Linked DNA regions of Homo sapiens: region 2 is linked to region 1. The links are contacts of gene promoters, found by promoter capture Hi-C in blood cells and fetal thymus (Javierre and others, 2016). All regions are on one chromosome and are shown on one strand. The core of a region is centred on a gene start or on the middle of the fragment in contact, and the rest is flanking DNA. Distances in the headings are between cores, read along the strand shown. Region 1 holds the start of ETV6 (ETS variant transcription factor 6). Region 2 overlaps MANSC1 (MANSC domain containing 1).

Region 1 (2,869 bases), core at 229-2,728:
CAGCGAAATGAATAAAGTGTACAATAAATGCAGCGATGGGAAAAATAACACGGGTAGATGGATAAATCATCCTGCCTCCCAATGGTGGCAAACTTTACAACAACTTTTTAGAAGCAACAAACCGCAGCACCACAGTCTTTACAGATATATAGACATGCATACACACAACTACTGGGTAGCCCAGCAGTGTGTTTACAAACATCTACCGCCCTGCATTTACAGAGTGCTGCTTAGATAGCCTCTCTGCACTGTCAAACACAGAAGGTCATTTTGCCTGGTTGCTTAGTTCTTCCTCTCCCTCCATCACAGGAGTTTTCTACTTTGGGATTGCTCAACTTTCATATGGATCGGAGTAAAATAACTATTCAGCAACTTTATTCACCTTGGTTTTAAAAAAAAATTCATTGTGCAATGCCTAGGAAAAGCTGACACCAGGACTGTCTCTCCGACAGCGCTTGCAATTACAATCAGACGAGGGGGAAAAAAATCCTGTCTGATCAGACCCAGAGAGTCCTTTAAAAAAATAAAAAGATTCTATCGCAGTGGAAACTGAACAACTTTTTTTCTAAGACGACCACCCCTCGGGAACAAAAGTTATATTTCAGTCACATGTTGGGTGTAGGAATAGGGAGCAGGTTTTTTTTTTTTGTTTTTTGTTTTTTTTTTTTTTAAGCGCACTAATTACGGGGGTGTTTTACGGTTCTGGAGACAATCCGGGTTGCTCTGACCAATTGTGACCGGCATTTCATTGTCAAAAAGCAAGGGGGTGGGGGCCGAGGAGCCGGCAGGGGCTCGGCGGTGGGGGGGAGTAGCAAGGTTACGCTAAAGGGTACAGCAGCCACCGCGAGCTGCATCTCTTTCCCTCTCGCCCCAAATAATTTCCTGCGAACAGAGCAACTGCAACAGCCTGCTCTGAGGAGCCCAGCACGACTGCCCTGGCCGGTGCAGCTCAGGGTTTCCACCACGTAGAAGGAGGGGAGAAGATTTTTACCTTAATGCTACACTGAGCAGGAGTCTCAGACATGTCTCACAGCGAGAGAGATCAGGAAGTTCTCAGGTTTTTTCCACTTTCCTTTCCTCTCCCCAACCCAGAAAGGCTCCACGGCCAGCCAGACGCGGTCATTTAAGAAGTTTCTTCCAGCATCTCTCCCGGCAGCCGCCCCGGGGGTCTGGAGCGCGCGGGGCGGGGCGGGGCGGCCGGCGGAGTTGGGCGCGCGGGGCGGCGGGGGCGTGGGAGACGGGCCCGAGCGCGGCGGCGGGGTCTGCAGGTCGCGGCGCGGCGCGGGGACCCGGGACGCAGCCCGGCCGGCCTCCCGGTCTCTCCTCCCACCCGCAGCCGGCGCCCCCGCCCCCCGCCCTCCCGCGGCTCTCCCTCGCTCTCTCGAATGTTTTCCTTCCTGGAAGAGAGAAACTGAAAGGCAGAACTGAGAAAGCTCTTTGCTCATTGATCTTGAGAGTTTCAGTGCAGAAACTGACGTGAATTCCCAGCACTGAGCTCTGCCTCTTAAAGGAGCCACCAGGAAATAAAAGCTCGGGTTACAGCCCGGCATCGGGGAAATAAAAGCTGCGCGGGGGAGGGGCGGCCGCGGGGGCGCGGGCGGAGGAAACCCGGGTAGCGGGGCCGCGTGGGGCCGCGGCTGCGAGCGGGGCGAGCGGCGCAGCCCCCCAGGCCGGCCCCCGGTGCGGGCGCCCGCCCTCCACGCCGCGAGACCTCCCGCTGGCCGAGCCAATTTCCGGGCTTAAGGAAGACACCTTTAAAAAACGTTACATTGTGGCCCCAGACACCACAAAACAGGTTTTATTAAACTCCTCCCACCTCCCCTGGCTCCGTCTCTTGGATACATCGATGTGCACAAGGGTTTTGAAACGTTTCACTAAGCGCAGATGCAACGAAAGTAATTATCTATGAAGGGCCATTCCGGTTAGGACGCGGAATCCGAAGGAGGAAATAAAACAATAGCCTTTGTTCTGCTTCTCGACCGCTGCCTCTTTAAGAGAATCCACCAGGAAATGGGAGATCGGGTTACAGCCTGCACACGGGGAAATGTGGGGAGAGCGGGCGCCCGAGCGCGACGCCGGAGACAAAGCCGGGGCGGCCGCGCCGCAGACGCTGGGGGACCGTCGGGCGGGGGGATTCCCGGGGAAGGTGGGCGCCCCGGAAAGAGGTGGCGCCACGCGCCCGCTCGGGGATGCGGCGGCCGCGGGCGCTTCCCGAGCCGAGCACGCGCTCCGGGAAGGGAAGGCTGCAGGGCAGTTATCAAAGGCAGCTGAGTTCCTTTTCCTGACCTCCCCCTCCTGTTTCGAAATCCACTGCCCTTTTAAAGAAATAGCGGCCGCTACCAACCGAAATAGGTGACTCGACTACAAAGTTGGCAGGACGTGTTCCTGCAGATAATACCCCTCCCCAGGACCGCTTCTCTGAAACCGTCATTGGCCGGTTGATTGGATGGCCCTGGGATCCTGCAGGGGGAGGAATATTTGGTTGGAAAAGCAGTTGAGGGGGGTTAAGGCCGTTGGGGCTGAAGGGTCTAGCCCTGAGCACAAGTGATCTGATCACTCTATTATTTTTATTATTATTTACACTCTCTTAAAGTGTCCACCACAAAAAACTGAGAACATTATCATTATACTTAAATTCTAACCTTGTTAGCACATATTGGGGGTTTAATATGTGGATGTGTAATGTAAAAGGAAATTTGTTATAATTTCTTAATAGAGTAATATATTAAATATGGTATAAATATGTATATACGCATATATACCCATATATGTTACCTGCACTGGACCAGGACACATTTCCCCGAGTCTCCCCACCCTACAGATTTTTCCTACCCACTTTCCTTCACCTCTTCACATTATCAAATGTGTT
Region 2 (2,869 bases), core at 109-2,608, 680 kb before region 1:
ATAAGTACAGCAATTAAGACAAATGCAGGAAATGACAGAAAAGGCTTTTCTTCTCCTTCCTCCTCACCTCTTCCTTCCTCCTCACCTCCTTCCCCTCTGCTCTTCTGGTACCCCTCCCCCATTTCCCTGGTTTACACTAAGTTCATAAAGTACATTAAGAGGAAAGCTGGTCTATTGAAAATACTACTTTTCTTATATTTTCCAACTTAACAGCTTGACACAAATCTCCAAGGGGTTTACATAAGCTTTAAGTAGGCTGAATAAATAAAACCTTGAGTCAATTTAACTTAACAAGTATTTATTGAATATCCACATGTAGGCCAGAATCAGATTAGTAACCAGGTGCCTTGGAATTTTAAAATTTCTCCTCTCTTTATTAATGGATTTAGCGAGTGGAAATCAGGCTTTCTGTGATGGTTTATAAAGGTATTTTCCTGGCTCTCTTGGAGTTCTCTGTCCACCTTGCTGCAGTCTTTGTTGTGATGGGGAGACCACATGGGAGCGGTCCAGATGAGTGATGCTACGGGCCCAAACTGTTAGTGGCCGTGAGGATATAGGTTGTAGGGGACATCTGGAGTGGAAAGAGTGCTCTTCTCACACAGCTCTCTCTACTTACTGCCCCTAGGATGGTGGGTGCAACTGTGGCAAGGGCAGTCAGGGTAGGGGAATCCCTTAGAGGAATTCAGCAGTGACTAGTCTGGTTAGCCTTTCCCACAAGGCCCATTGAGTTATGAGCCCCCTCCTTTGGTTTGTAGAAAGAGAAGGTAGCAGCCTAGAACAGGTGAGAAGATGAGGTAGGTCCTTCTGCTCAAACATCCTCTCTCCGTATTTTACCAACACGATACTGACCTAGGTTAAAAAGCTACTCTTGGCCAGGCGTGGTGGCTCACGCCTGTAATCCCAGCACTTTGGGAGTCCAAGGTGGGTGGATCACCTGAGGTCAGGAGTTCTAGACCAGCCTGGCCAACATGGTGAAACCCCATCTCTACAGAAATACAAAAATTAGCCAGGCATGGTGGCAGACACCTGTAATCCCAGCTACTTGGGAGGCTGAGGTAGGATAATTGCTTGAGGCCGGGAGGGGGCGGTTGCAGTGAGCCAAGATCGCTCCATTGCACTCCAGCCTAGGCGACAGAGCAAGACTCTATCTCAAAAAAATAAAATAAAATAAAATAAAAATAAGCTACTCTTAGCCAGGCACATAGTGGCTCACATCTGTAATCTCAGCCCTTTGGGAGACTGAGGTGGGAGGATCACTTGAGCCCAGGAGGTCGAGGCTGCAGTGAGCCATGATCACGCCACTGCACTCCAGCCTGGGCGACAGAACGAGAGCCCATCTCAAAAAAAAAAACAAAACAACAACAACAAAAAAAAAACTAAAAAACTCTTAAAAAACCTGAGGACTCCTGGATGAATACTGTTATGTGCCTGTTTCTCAATTACCCCTGGCCTGAGTGAGGAACTTTTGGAACTCTTTGGCTCCCAGACTGTGGTGGGCACTACCGGTCAGCTGCCCAGCAGCCAGCCCTAGTCCCACTTCTGCCTCATTTGTTACAGGTTGGAAGTGCCAGGTTCAGGGATGGGCCTGTGACCCAAGTTTTAGCTGAAAGGAAACCTACTAGGGACTTCTAGGAGAGATTTTCTTGCTTGTAAAGGGAAGGCTGCACAAGGAGAAAAGCCCTTTCTAACCACATCCCCTTATTTCATGCTTGGGATGCTGACCATGTGAAGACTTGGTTGTTGGAGCTGTGGTGGCCTCCCTGCCATGATGAGGGGAGAAGGCACTGCCACACTGAGCGTGGCAGTGGGTACAGGAAGAGTCCAGTCTCCGGGATGCCTTGGTTAATTGACAGGACAAACCCTGGAACTGCCAACTTCCATCTTGTTCTGTAATAATAAATCTCTAATATTTGTACCACTTTCAGTCGAGTATTCTATGATTTATTACTTATTGATAGCAAACACTTAGAAAGTACTTACACTATGGGCCGGGCACAGTGGCTCACGCCTGTAATCCCAGCACTTTGGGAGGCCGAGGCGGGTGGATCACCTGAGGTCAGGAGTTCGAAACCAGCCTGGCCAACATGACGAAACCCCATCTCTACTAAAAATACAAAAATTAGCTGGGCGTGGCGGGGGCAGAGTTTGTAGTGAGCCAAGATTGCACCCCTGCACTCCAGCCTGAGCGACAGAGCAAGACTCCACAAAAGAAAGTACTTACACTATGCGCCAGATTCACTTTTACATATACTAACTCATTTCAATTCCACAACAACCTTTTGAATAATTTTAATCCTTATTCTGTAGATAAGGAAACTGAGACACAGCGAAGTTTAAGGGCCTTTCCAGAGGTCACTTGCCCAGATAGCCTGGCTCCGGAGTTGCCACTTTTTACATTCTTATAACTGGAATGATACACGGTGTAACCAAAAAGAGGTTTGCACTAGATTGGAAATGTTCTAGAAAGCTTTTTGTTGTTGTTTTTGTTGTTGTTGTTTGAGACAATTTTGCTTTGTCACCCAGGCTGGAGTGTAGTGGCGCAAACACAGCTTACTGCAGCCTCCAACTCTCGGGCTCAAGTAATCCTCCTGCCTCAGCCCCCCAAGTAGCTGGGACTACAGGCATGTGCCACCACGCCCAGCTAATTTTTGTATTTTTGTAGATACAGGGTTTTGCCATGTTGGCCAGGCTGGTCTCAAACCCCTGGACTCAAGCAATCTGCCCATTTCAGCCTTCTGAAGTGCTGGGATTACAGGCATGAGCCACCATGCCTGGCCCTAAATAGCTTTTATTTTTATTTATTTATTTAGAGACAGAGTTTTCTCTTGTCGCCCAGGCTGGAGTGCAATGGCATGATCTTGGCTCATTG

Evidence for each region. The method cuts DNA at HindIII sites, captures the fragments that hold promoters and counts their contacts. A CHiCAGO score of 5 or more calls a contact.
Region 2: a contact is called between a fragment that was not itself captured here and the fragment with the promoter of ETV6 in region 1, in 2 of 17 cell types (total CD4 T cells and total CD8 T cells). The highest score is 5.7, in total CD4 T cells.

The regions. Positions count from the first base shown.
Region 1 is chr12:11,648,283-11,651,151 of GRCh38, reverse strand. ETV6 (ETS variant transcription factor 6) reads right to left here and starts at 1,478. Exons shown (of 8, transcript NM_001987.5): 1 at 992-1,478. The coding sequence starts at 1,024. RefSeq lists silencers at 1,126-1,285, 1,296-1,345, 1,556-1,765, 2,056-2,295 and an enhancer at 2,476-2,575. The HindIII fragment of the contact is 9,207 bases long and covers 1-2,869 here.
Region 2 is chr12:12,325,111-12,327,979 of GRCh38, reverse strand. MANSC1 (MANSC domain containing 1) reads left to right here. Exons shown (of 4, transcript NM_018050.4): 4 at 1-1,924. Among named protein-coding and RNA genes, the nearest start is that of MANSC1, 24 kb to the left of the region's middle. RefSeq lists an enhancer at 2,173-2,673. The HindIII fragment of the contact is 2,222 bases long and covers 248-2,469 here.